Regions from separate parts of the Homo sapiens genome. Here regions 1 and 3 are each linked to region 2. The links are contacts of gene promoters, found by promoter capture Hi-C in human tissues and cell types (Jung and others, 2019). All regions are on one chromosome and are shown on one strand. The core of a region is centred on a gene start or on the middle of the fragment in contact, and the rest is flanking DNA. Distances in the headings are between cores, read along the strand shown. Region 1 overlaps ZNF611 (zinc finger protein 611). Region 2 holds the start of ZNF600 (zinc finger protein 600). Region 3 overlaps LOC122539214 (Zinc finger protein LOC122539214).

Region 1 (3,973 bases), core at 538-3,037, 83 kb before region 2:
AGAAGGTCAGGTGTACAACTAAGACATAAGCAAATTGTTTCAATCAAGAATACATGAGTGGTCAGGCACGGTGGCTCACGCCTGTAATCCCAGCACTTTGGGAGGTCGAGGTGGGCAGATCACCAGAAGTCAGTAGTTTGAGACCAGCCTGGCCAACACAGTGAGAGCCTGTCTCTACTGACAATGCAAAAACCTAGCCAGGAGTGGTGGAGGGCACCTGTAATCCCAACTACTTGGTAGGCTGAGGCAGGAGAATCACTTGAACCCAGGAGGCAGACGTTGTAGTGACACCAGATCGCACCATTGCAGTCCAGCCTGGGCAACAAGAGCAAAACTCCATCTCAAAAAAAAACCCCCAAAAAAACAAAAAGAAAAACAAAAAAAAAACCGAGGCTGGGAGCAGTGGCTCACACCTGTAATCTCATCACATTGGGAGGCCAAGTCGGGTGGATCACAAGGTCAGGATTTGAGACCAGCCTGACAAACGTGATGAAACCCCGTCTCTACTAAAAATACAAAAATTAGCCAGGCATGCTGGTGGGTGCCTGTAATTCCAGCTACTCAGGAGACTGAGGCAGGAGCATCACTTGATCCCAGGAGGCAGAGGTTGCAGTGAGCTGAGATTGCACCACTGCCCTCCATCCAAGGCGACAGAGCAAGATTCCATTTCAAAAAAGAAAAGAAAAGAATACACGGGTGCTTTTGGAGGAGCGTTCTATGCCAATCCAGCCCATGTTTCAACATTTTTCCAGAATGGACCAGAGGGCCTTGAGGGAAACACGCAATAAATAGCTCCCAGATCAAGATTTTAACAAAGGACATAAGGAAAGAAAACTGAAAAACAGACTAACTGGTTAAAGTACATTTTGATGTTTAGTTAAAAGGCCACTGACATATTTACCAAGTACACACTGAAACAATCAAACTTAAGTTTAGGTACCAAAGGTTTTCAATAAATAACAAAGACTAGAAAGCATGCAGACATTGATATGAACTGGATGCAACTAATTTAAAACAGCAACTATTTTGAAATTGTTTTTTAAAAAAATCTAACGAATTCTGGGGTCAACCGGAAAATAACTGGAAAATATACAAGTACAGAAACGAATGATGTGAGCTGATTATAGGATGCTGCAAAGGCATCTTTCAGAAGTCATTATGTATTAAGAAATACAACTTTTATAACTTAGATTTATCTCAAACTCAAACTGCAAAATAAATAAATAAATAAATAAAAAATAAAGAGAGAAATGAAGAGGAACCAGAAAGAAAAAGAAGGAAGTCCATTATACGAGAAGAAAAGCATTTTTGAGGTCTTTTTTTGTTATTTTTTGTTTGTTTGAGATGGAGACTCACTCTGCCACCCAGGCTGCAGTATAGTGGCACAATTTTGGTTCACTGCAACTTCTACCTCCTAGGTTTAAGCAATTCTCATGCCCCAGCCTCCCAAGTAGCTGGAACTAAAGGTGCACACCAACACCCCCGGCTAACTTTTGTATTTTTAGTAGAGATGGGGTTTCACCATGTTAGGGTGCTTTTGAAATTGTGACCTTAGGTGACCAGTTCACATGGGTCGACCAAAGTACTCTGATTGCAGGGATGAGCCACCACGTACCGAGGCTTTGATATCCTTTTTTTTTTTTTTTTTTTTGAGATAGACTCTCACTCTGTCGCCCAGGCTGGAGCCCAGTGGTGCGATCTCGACTCCCTGCAAGCTCCGCCTCACAGGTTCATGCCATTCTCCTGCCTCAGCATCTGGAGTAGCTGGGACTACAGGCGCCAGCCACCATGCCCAGCTAATTTTTTGTATTTTTAGTAGAGACAGGGATTCACCCTGTTAGCCAGGAAAGTCTCGATCTCCTGACCCCGTGATCTGCCTGCCTCGGCCTCCCAAAGTGCTGGGATTATAGGCATGAGCCTCCGTGCCTGGCCTCATATCCCTTTTAAAAATTACTATGATATATCCCTTTCAAAAAGTACTAACTGAAAAAAGTACTATCTCTTTAAAAAGTACTGGCTCAAAAAAATAATAGAAAATAAGAAACAAAAAACAGGCTGAGAAAAGTGGCTCACATCTGTTGGCCATGCTGGTTTCAAACTCCTGACCTCAAGTGACCTATGTGCCTTGGCCTCCCGACGTGCTGGGATTACAGGTCGGAGCCACCACACCTGGCCCCATCCTCTTAACATAAACACTTGAATGTCAATAAAGGCTTGAACTCAATGTTAAGTCAACACAAACTCAAGTCAATGCTGAATTGACTCCAATGTCAATTAATGCTTGATGGTTTGCTATACTCATTTCATTGGGAACGGTTATCTCAAAAATGAATTTTCTGATGTTCTGCATGGAGTGATCTTGGACTGAAGACCTTGCCACACTGATGACATTTGTAAGATTTCTGTCCAGTATAGATTCTCTGATGTCTAATGACGTGTGAACGTGAAGCAAAGGCTTTGCCACAATCATCACACTTGTGAGGTTTCTCTCCTGTATAAATTCTCCTATGTTTTGCATAGGATGAAGCTTGACTGAAGACCTTGGCACAGTCATGACATTTGTAAGGTTTCTCTCCAGTATGAGTTCACCGATGACCTGCAATATGTGAACGATCTCTGAAAAATTTGCCACATTTATTACACTTGTAAGATCTCTCTTCATTATGGATTCTCCAATGATTTGTAATCGTTGTAGCATTACTGAAGACTTTGTGACAATCATTACATTAGTCAAGTTTCCCTACACCATGAATTGCCTGATGGTGAATAAGTGTTGACTGCTTGCCAAAGGCTTTGCCACACTCATTACACTTGTAAGGTTTCTCTCCAGTGTGAAGTCCAGTATGTTGTTCCAGGTGTGAATCACTCCCAAGTCTTGTCAGAAACCTTACATTTGTAAGCTTTCTCTCCAGTATAAATTCTCCTATGTCTTTAAGGTGTGATTTCCAAATGGAAACTTTGTCACATGCTTCACATTTCTAAGGTTTCTCTCCAGTATGAATTCTATGATGACGTGAAAGGTGTGATTGTTGATTAAAAGCCTTCCCACATTCATTACACTTGTAAGGTTTCTCTGCAGTGTGAATTCTGGTATGTCTTGACAGGAGTGAATTACGCACGAAAGCCTTGTCACAAATTGTACATTTGTAAGATTTCTCTCCAGTATGAAGTCTACGATGGTATATAAGGGATGAGCAGTGACGGAAGGTATTGCCACACTCATTACACTTGTAAGGTTTCTCACCACTATGAAGTCTACGATGGCAATGAAGGGATGACCTGCGACTGAAGGTCTTGCTGCACTCATTACACTTGTAAGGTTTCTCACCACTATGAACTCTATGATGGCATACAAGGTATGACCTGTGACTGAAGGTCTTGCTGCACTCATTACACTTGTAAGGTTTCTCTCCACTATGAATTCTAGTATGTTTTGCCAGATAGGAATGACACGCAAAAGCCTTGTCACAAACCTTACATTTGTATGGTTTCTCTCCAGTATGACCTATCTTATGTGTCTCAAGGCTTGATTTACGACTGAAAACCTTTTCACATTCATCACATTTGTAAGGTTGCTCCCCAGTATGAATTGACTTATGAATTAAAAGATCTGAATTTTGACCAAAGGTCTTCCCACATTCATTACACTTGTAAGGTTTTTCTCCACAGTCAATTCTAGTATGTTTTGCCAGTTGTGAACTCCACACAAAAGCCTTGTCACAAACCTTACATTTGTAAGATTTCTCTCCACCATGAAGTCTATGATGGCATACAAGGGATGACTTGTGACTGAAGGTCTTGCCACACTCATTACATTTATAAGTTTTCTTTGCAGTATGAATTCTTCTATGTCGAGCCAGCTGTGAATGCCACGTGAAAGCTGTGTCACAAACCTTACATCTGTATGGTTTCTCTCCAGTATGAATTCTCTTATGTGTCTCAATGGTTGATTTCCGACTGAAAACTTTGTCAC
Region 2 (4,178 bases), core at 904-3,403:
AAACAAGGTATTAGATGATATACACAGAAGTCAACATGTCACAACTAATCATATCCAATGAACTCACCCACTTATCTGTACCCAAAGTCCCCCACCCTTTTTTTCTTTTGAGACAGGGTCTTGCTCTTTTGACCAGGCTGGAGTACAGTGGCATGATCTCTGCTCACAGCAGCCTGGAGCTCCTGGGCTCAAGTGATCCTCCTGCTTCGGCCTAGAGAAGCTGAAACTGCAGGTGCACACTATCACACCCGGTTAAATTTTTTTTTTCCTTTTTTGACAGAGATGGGGGGAGCCTCACTATTTTGCCCAGGCTGGTCTTGAACTCCTAGACTCAAGCAATCCCTTTGCCTCAGTCTCCTAAAGTGCTGAGATTACAGGCATGAGCCACTGCGCCCAGCCCCTCTTTCTTCATTACTGTGCTTCCCTCCCTAATTCTGTGCATATCTCTCATTCTCCCCTTCTCTCTCTAGCTCTTGTTTTCTTTTCTTTTTCCCTGGGATTGTGCTCCTCATTTTGTACCCCTCTCCTCTCCTGCTGTTTATCCCCTTCTTCCCTCTATTACTTCTCTTCCACCTCTTCTGCTCCATTCTCACAGCTTATTTAACCTCTTTTTTTTTTTTCCTTTTTGAGATGGAGTTTCACTCTTGTTGTGCAGGCTGGAGTGCACCGGTGCGATCTTGGCTCTCACCGCAACCTCTGCCTCCCAGGTTCAAAGGTTTCTCCTGCCTCAGCCTCCCTAGTAGCTGGGATTACAGGCATGTGCAACCGCTCCCAGCTAATTTTATATTTTTAATAGAGACGGGGTTTCTCCCTGTTGATCAGGCTGGTCTCGAACTCCGGACCTCAGGTGATCCACCCGCCTCAGCCTCCCAAAATGCTGGGATTACAGGCATGACCCACAGCGCCCGGTCCTTATTTAACCTCTTGTTGTTCTTTCTCCCCAATCTTTCAATCTTCCTCAATGTCTATATATTACAGCCTCTTCTCTTATCTCTCCGTCTCCTCTGCTCTCCCTATTAAATTCTCTCTTCCCTGTTATACCCCTCTGTCCCCACTCTCCAGCACCTCAGATCCCCAGGTGTCCTCCCTGCTGTGGTTCTCCATCTGTTCTTGCCACCAGCACCACTCTGCTCTGTCTGCCCTGGCTCCAAATCCCTCCTCCTCTCCCTCACTCTGGTGAGCCTCCCTCTTTGCTGCCCCTCTCCCTACCTTGCTGTCCTTCATCTTTCTGTACATCTAGCTTTTCTCTACATTTCTCCAGTTGCTTTTCTCCTCCTGCTTTCTTAGTTTTTTTTCTTTCACTTTTGCTGTCTCTTGGCAAATTCCTAACCCATCCTCTACTTTGCCATCTGTTATGGGCCTTTCTCATTCTTCTTTTCTCTGTCTCTGGTTTTCTACTGCTCTCTCAGTCCCTCTCTCTATCTCCTGATCCCTTTGGCCCAGGCGGGTTTGGAGTAATCACAGGCGGGTTTGGAGTAAGACGCCTGCATCCCGTAGAAGCGCATTTTCCAGGGGGTGGAGCTGGACAGGAAAGAACACCTGGTATCATAGGACAAGCCCCTGCGACCCACCCCAACCCTGGCTCAGGGGAAGCGAAGACTTGGGGAGCAGCAGGGCCCGGCACCAGGAGGGACGTGGTGGGCGACGGCACCCTAAGACAAAGGTGGGACCTGCAGGATCCCAGGACCAGGCAGAGGACGCAGCCTCCCCGGGGCTGGGGCCGGGGCGCCGCGCTCCAGGTGCCAACTGGGGCGAGGCTGGGAGGCGCCCAGGGCTGGAATCCACCTCGCGGGTGAGGACTTTAAAAAGCACGGGGCGGGAATAGTCAGAAAAATGTTTTGAGCAGGAAAAATACGCGATAGGAAGTGTATACATTGCCCTATAGCAGAAAGACCGGGGACGGGACCAGCCTCCGAGCGACTTCAAACCCAAAAGCAAGCAACTTCCAGACTCTTACCGGGACGTCTCAATTTGCTCTGGGTGAAGGGAAGACAGGCGAGAATTTCCAGGTCCGTGGGGATCCCACGTCCCAGGGGCAGAAGCGCCGGGGACCTGGGAAGTGCAGACTTAATCCAAGGCAGAGCAAAACTCACGCGCCGTGGTAGGACCTTCACTCCACGCGATCCGCTTCCGGGTTTGTGCGCGCCCAGGACTGAAGCCAGGCCGGGGCAGGTTGGCTGGACCTGGGCGGGGTAGAGGCGGGGCCCCAGGCGGAGAGACCTTGCCCTTTAGAACCGGCAGAGGGAGGGCCCGGGGCGGGACCTGTGCTTCTCAGCCTCGCACTCAGCGCCTCTGTTTTTCGAGTTTTTGGAGGCGACAGCGGCCAGGAAGGCTGAGGCATGATTCAAAAGCCCTGGAATTATCTGGAACGGGAATGCAAACTAGAATGTGAAATGCAAAGCCCTGCCAGGGCGGAACATACGATTTCATGCTGATGGCCCACAGAACAGAACAGAAATCCTCTCCCTTTCTATTCTCCATTCACTCAGGAGGGAGGGTCCACCCCGTGCTCAGCTTCAAAGTGTTCCCTAGGGCCTCCGCCTGGGATGCGGGACGGAGAGCTCAGGCCAGGGAGGAGTGAGGTCACCACCTGCTGCCTAAACACAGCAGGGATGCGGGCACGAGGCGGAAGCCTGAGGTCCCAGCTACTCAGGAAGCAGCGGCGGGAGAATCCCTGAACCTGGGGGTCCAGGCCATCCTGGGCGACAAAGTAACACCCCCTAACTGCAGGGTCCTCTTCCTGATCTCTCTCTCGCTCTTTTACTTTTTTTTTTTTTTTTTTTTTTTGAGACGGAGTCTCGCTGTGTCGCCCAGGCTGGAGTGCAGTGGCACGATTTTGGCTCACTGCAAGCTCCGCCTCCCGGGTTCACGCCCTTCTCCTGCCTCAGCCTTTCGAGTAACTGGAACTACAGGAGCCCGCCTAACCCAAACAAAAACAAGACCGGGCGCGCTGGCTCACACCTGTAATCTCAGCACTTTGGGAGGCTGAGGCGGGCAGATCATGAGGTCAGGAGATCGAGACCATCCTGGCTAACACAGTGAAACCCCATCTCTACTAAAAAATACAAAAAAATTAGCCAAGCGTGGTGGTGGGTGCCTGTAATCCCAGCTACTAGGGAGGCTGAGACAGGAGAATGGAGTGAACCCGGGAGGCGGAGCGTGCAGTGAGCCAAGATCGTGCCACTGCACTCCAGCCTGGGCGACAGAGCGAGGCTACGTCTCAAAAAAAAAAAAGAAAAAGAAAAAGAAAAAGAAATATCTCCCCTAGTTTGTCTCCTTTTCCAGAATTTACCAGATACCAGTACACAGATACCAGTGCATACATTAATGTATGACTTTCATACATAGATTCTCTGATCTGATCCACAAAGAGCTAAATGTGCATCCAGATGTGGCCCCTGAACAATCCCTGCTGCCCAATATCACTGACACCTTGGGGTCCACACCCCATCTCCATCCATCTCTGGTGTGAGCCCTTCCCAGGACCATGCCCAGTGCAGCCTCTTCCCAAGCTCATGTCACTAGGTTATAGAAGATGGAATTTAAGTGAAGATGACAAGGACTGAGAAAAGGCATGGGTTAGTGTGAGCAAACGTGTGAGGCAGGATGCTTCAGACTCACAGAAGACTGGCTACTACAATACCTGGCATTTCAGAAAGGAAAGAGACAGAAGAATCCACCGAGGAATATTACTCCACCTGAGGAAGAGCCATCCCTGGCTCCTTTTCTTTGCTCCTCTTGGTGTCTTCCTCACGTAACATGAGTCTTTGGAAAATCAATCCTGTATGTAAAAAAAAATACGAGATTTAATTTTTAGAAATCACTCCCTCCTTTCCTGTGACAAAACACACACACAGGGGAGACCTCACCAGGGATAAAGATGGTTCTCTGCTGCCCACTGCACCAGAGATTATGTGGAGATAAGAAGGTGCCACAGGAAGACCTACAAGGGCAATTTTGACCTGTTTTGAGGTCTTGCTCCCTCCTGCAAAAGTCCACACACACGCTGCAGCAGGACACAGATCTTCAGGGCACAGATCTGGCCCTAACCAAACCCCATGCAGAGCACAGCCCCCTCACCTCCCTGTGGATCACAGGCTGATCTCAGCTCTCAACATGGAGGAAACTGCCTTGATGTTCAATGCTGGAGACAGATGAGAATCACCTGCACCATTGTA
Region 3 (3,855 bases), core at 696-3,195, 110 kb before region 2:
ATAGGAATTTGGACAAGATAAAAAAATCAGAGCTTACACCTCATTCTCAAATACTTTTTTTTACAGTTCTTCCCTGCAATATAACTACTTTTACGATAAATGTTGTTGACAACATAATATGCTAACATCAATAATTTATAAATGTATTGTAATATTAAATTCACTCTATGTGCCTTCTGAAAAAATTAGAAAATGTACCTTTTATCTTCAAGTTGTACTTTTTTTTTTTCCTTCAGACAGGACCTAGTTCTGTCACCCCGGCTGGAATGCAGTGGCAGGAACACTGCTCCTTGCACCCTCAACCTCTGGTGCTCAAGCAATCCTCCCGCCACACCTCCCAACTAGCTGGAGCTGCAGGCCCTCACCACCAAGCCTGGCTAATTTGTTAGTACTTTGTAGAGGGGTGGTCCCACTATGATGCTCAGGCTAGCCTTCAACTCCTGGACTCAAGCGATCAACCCACCTTTGCTTCCCAAAGTGTTGGGGTTACAGGCAAGCCACCACACCCATCCAATTGCAATCTATTTTAGGTGTTTTCTTTGTTATTCTCTCCTGAGTGTTCTATCAGGTGGGAATAACAAAGGCTATAAAATATGCAGTCTTTAAATGTTAGGATTTATTTTCATATAGAGAAAGATCATGAAATATTACTAAGAATACATTGCAGTCAAGTTATTCCGTTTTACTTGGGCCCTGAAAAAATATAACTAAGTTATAAAATTGGCTGGGCACATTGACTCACACCTGTAATCCCAGCACTTTGGGAGGTCGAGGCAGGTGGATGACCCAGAGGTCAGGAGATTGAGACTAGCCTGGCTAACATGGTGAAACCCCATCTGTACTAAAAATACAACAATTAGCTGGGTAAGGTGGCACAAAACTGTAATCTCAGCTACTCAGGAGATTGAGGCAGGAGAATCTCTTGAATCCAGGAGGCAGAGGTTGCAGTGAGCAAAGATCTCACCACAGCTCTCCAGCCTGAGCAAAAGAGTGAGATTCTGTCTCAAAAAAATAAAAATAAAAATAAAATGAAATTATAAATCACCTCATTTCTGCATGTAATACTTTTATGACTATATCTGTAAGTTAACATGTACTATGAACTATGTTTTTCTCCCACATCCCTAGCTATGGAAGAATTCATCTATCAAACACTAGTAATTAGCTAAAATATGATTACATTTAGAAGGGAAATTAGCATATCTAGAATATTAGCAAGTTTAAAAAAGCATAATGTCGTCAGGCATGGTGGCTTGTGCCTGTAATCCGAGCATGATGGGAGGCTGAGGCAGGAGGATGGCTAGTGCCCAACAGTTGGAGTCCAGCCTAGGCAACATAGCACCTCATCTTTATGTTTTAAAAATTAATTAAGTTACTTATTTATTTTTGAGATTGAGTTTGGTTCTTGTTGCCTAGGCTGGGGTGCAATGGCACGGTCTCGGCTCACTGCAACATCTGCCTCCTGGGTTCAAATGATTCTCTTGCCTCAGCCTCCCAGGTAGCTGGGATTATTGGTGCTCGCCATCATGCTGGGTTAATTTTTGTATTTTTAGTAGAGACGGGGTTTCACCGTGTTGGCCAGGCTGGTCTCCAAATCCTGACCTTCCAAAGTGCTGGGATTACAGACATGAGCCACCGTGCATGGCAAAAAAGTTTATTTTAATCAGAAATAATTAATAAATAGAACATGATAATGGGTACAAAAAATAGAATAAGACCTATTATTTCATAACACAACAGAATGACTGTAGTCAATGATTAAATTGTACATATAAAAATGGGGATGGCCAGGTGTGGTGGCTCAAACCTATAAGCCCTGTCTCTACCAAAAATACAAAAAAAACTGGATGTGAGCCTGTAATCCCAGCTACTCAGGAGACTGAGGCATGAGAATCACTTAAACCCAGGGAGCAGAGGTTGCAGTGAGTGGAGATTGCACCACTGCATTCCAGACTGTGCGAAAGAGCTGGACTCCATCTCAAAAAACTAAACAAATGGCTGGGCACAGTGGCTCATGCTTGAATCCCAGCACTTTGGGAGCCAAGATGGGTGGATCCCCTGAGGTCAAGAGTTCGAGACCAGCCTGACCAACATGGTATAACCCTGTCTCTAAAAAAATACAAAATTAGCCGAGGGTGATGGCGCATGCCTGTAATCTCAGATATTCAGGAGGCTGTGGCAGGAGAATCATTTGAGCCAAGAAGGCAGAGGTTGCAGTGAGCTGAGATCGCACCACTACACTCCAGGGTACACAAGAAGAGTGTAACTCCATCACACACACACACACACACAAAATGCTATAAACAGAACATCAGAAAAAAAATATAGAAAGTCACATGTATTTAAAAACCTTAAGCTTTTGAAAGCTGTTTTCCCAAGTAATCAAAAATGAGCCAATAACGATGCAAATATTATCTTTTTGTTTTTTGTTTTTTCTGGAGACAGAGATCATGCAACTGCACTCTAGCCTGGGTGACAGAGTGAGACTCCAACTCAAAAAAATAAATAAATAAAAAATTATTAGGCCAGGAGCAGTGGCTCTTTGGGAGGCTGAGGTGGGCCAATCACCTCAGGTCAAAAGTTCGAGACCAGCCTGGTCAACATGGTGCAACCCTATCTCTACTAAAAATACAAAAAATTAACCGGGCCTGGTGGTGTGTGCCTGTAATCCCAGCTACTAGGGAGGCTGAGGCAGGAGAATTGGTTGAAGCTGAGAGGTGGAGGCCGCAGTGAGTCGAGATCATGCCACTGCCCTGCAGCCTGGGTAACAGAGTGAGACTCCATCTCAAAAAAAAAAAAAAAAAAAAAAATTACCAATGTCAACTGAACTTGGAAAGCACCACACATTTGCACACTCACACAGACACAACCCTCTGATATGGCTCTAGACCAAATCCACAGGTTAAAAAGCCCTCAAATGAACTCTTGGGCCTTAAGCCTTTCAAAAGATCACCTGTTTCCTGTGAGGTTGGGGCTGTGGCCCTGATGTGTGAAGACTTAGGACCATCCTGTCATCATAGAAACCCTAAACAAAATAAAGAAGGAAATTTACCTCAACAATATAAAAGACCATCCATGAAATGACCACAGCTGAAATAACCAATCAGGAAAAATTGAATGCTTTTCCTGTAGGATCTCACATGATGCTAGAACGTTCTCACCCTTTCTATTCAATCAATACTGACTGTCCTAGCCAGAGCAATGAAATAGCAAAAGAAATCAAACTCATCCAAATCAGAAAGAAATAAATAAAATTTTATTTGTTTGTAGATGACACGATCCTCTGTGTAGAAAGTCACAAAGACTCAACCAAAATACAAGTGGAACTAATAAACATTCAGTGGATTTGCAGAGTACAATATTAGCACCAAAATTAGTTGAATTTCCATGCAATAACAGTAAAAAATTTTAAAAGGAAATTAAGAAAACACTTCCATTTTCTAGAGAATTTAAACTAAGATATACTTAGGAATAAACGTAAAAATGCGAGAAGTTTCTACCTTGAAATCTATGAACATTGATCAAAATGATTAAAAACATAGAGATACAACCAATATTGATAGATTGGAAAACTTAATCTCGTTAAATGATTATACAACCCAAGATGATTTAGATTTAACACAACGCCCATACAAATCCCTATCAGTTTTTGTCAAAGAAACAAAAAACCGGCTGGGAAAAGTGGCTAACCTCTGTTGGCCAGGCTGGTCTAAAACTTCTGACATCAAGTGATCTACCCACCTTGGGCTCCCAAAGTGCTGGGATTACAGGCATGAGCCACCACGGCCAGCTACTCTAAGCTATTTCTGACAAGACAGTGAAATGAGTGACACAGGAAAAGGGGCATCTAATCAC

What was found. Contacts are between HindIII fragments. The study calls those that stand out against the background at their distance.
Region 1: a fragment that was not itself captured here is called in contact with the fragment with the promoter of ZNF600 in region 2 in 2 of the 25 tissues and cell types used here (adrenal gland and mesenchymal stem cells).
Region 3: a fragment that was not itself captured here is called in contact with the fragment with the promoter of ZNF600 in region 2 in 2 of the 25 tissues and cell types used here (H1 embryonic stem cells and pancreas).

Annotation. Positions count from the first base shown.
Region 1 is chr19:52,701,959-52,705,931 of GRCh38, forward strand. It overlaps ZNF611 (zinc finger protein 611), which reads right to left. Exons shown (of 6, transcript NM_001161499.2): 6 at 855-3,973. The coding sequence ends at 2,979. Among named protein-coding and RNA genes, the nearest start is that of ZNF611, 31 kb to the right of the region's middle. The HindIII fragment of the contact is 3,945 bases long and covers 1-3,760 here.
Region 2 is chr19:52,784,638-52,788,815 of GRCh38, forward strand. ZNF600 (zinc finger protein 600) reads right to left here and starts at 2,154. Exons shown (of 6, transcript NM_001321866.4): 1 at 1,958-2,154. RefSeq lists enhancers at 1,114-1,972, 1,973-2,830 and a silencer at 2,163-2,312. The HindIII fragment of the contact is 28,786 bases long and covers 1-4,178 here.
Region 3 is chr19:52,671,229-52,675,083 of GRCh38, forward strand. All of the region lies in intron 1 of LOC122539214 (Zinc finger protein LOC122539214), which reads right to left. It also overlaps a transcript of ZNF83 not described here. Among named protein-coding and RNA genes, the nearest start is that of ZNF83, 35 kb to the left of the region's middle. RefSeq lists an enhancer at 2,782-3,281. The HindIII fragment of the contact is 8,097 bases long and covers 1-3,855 here.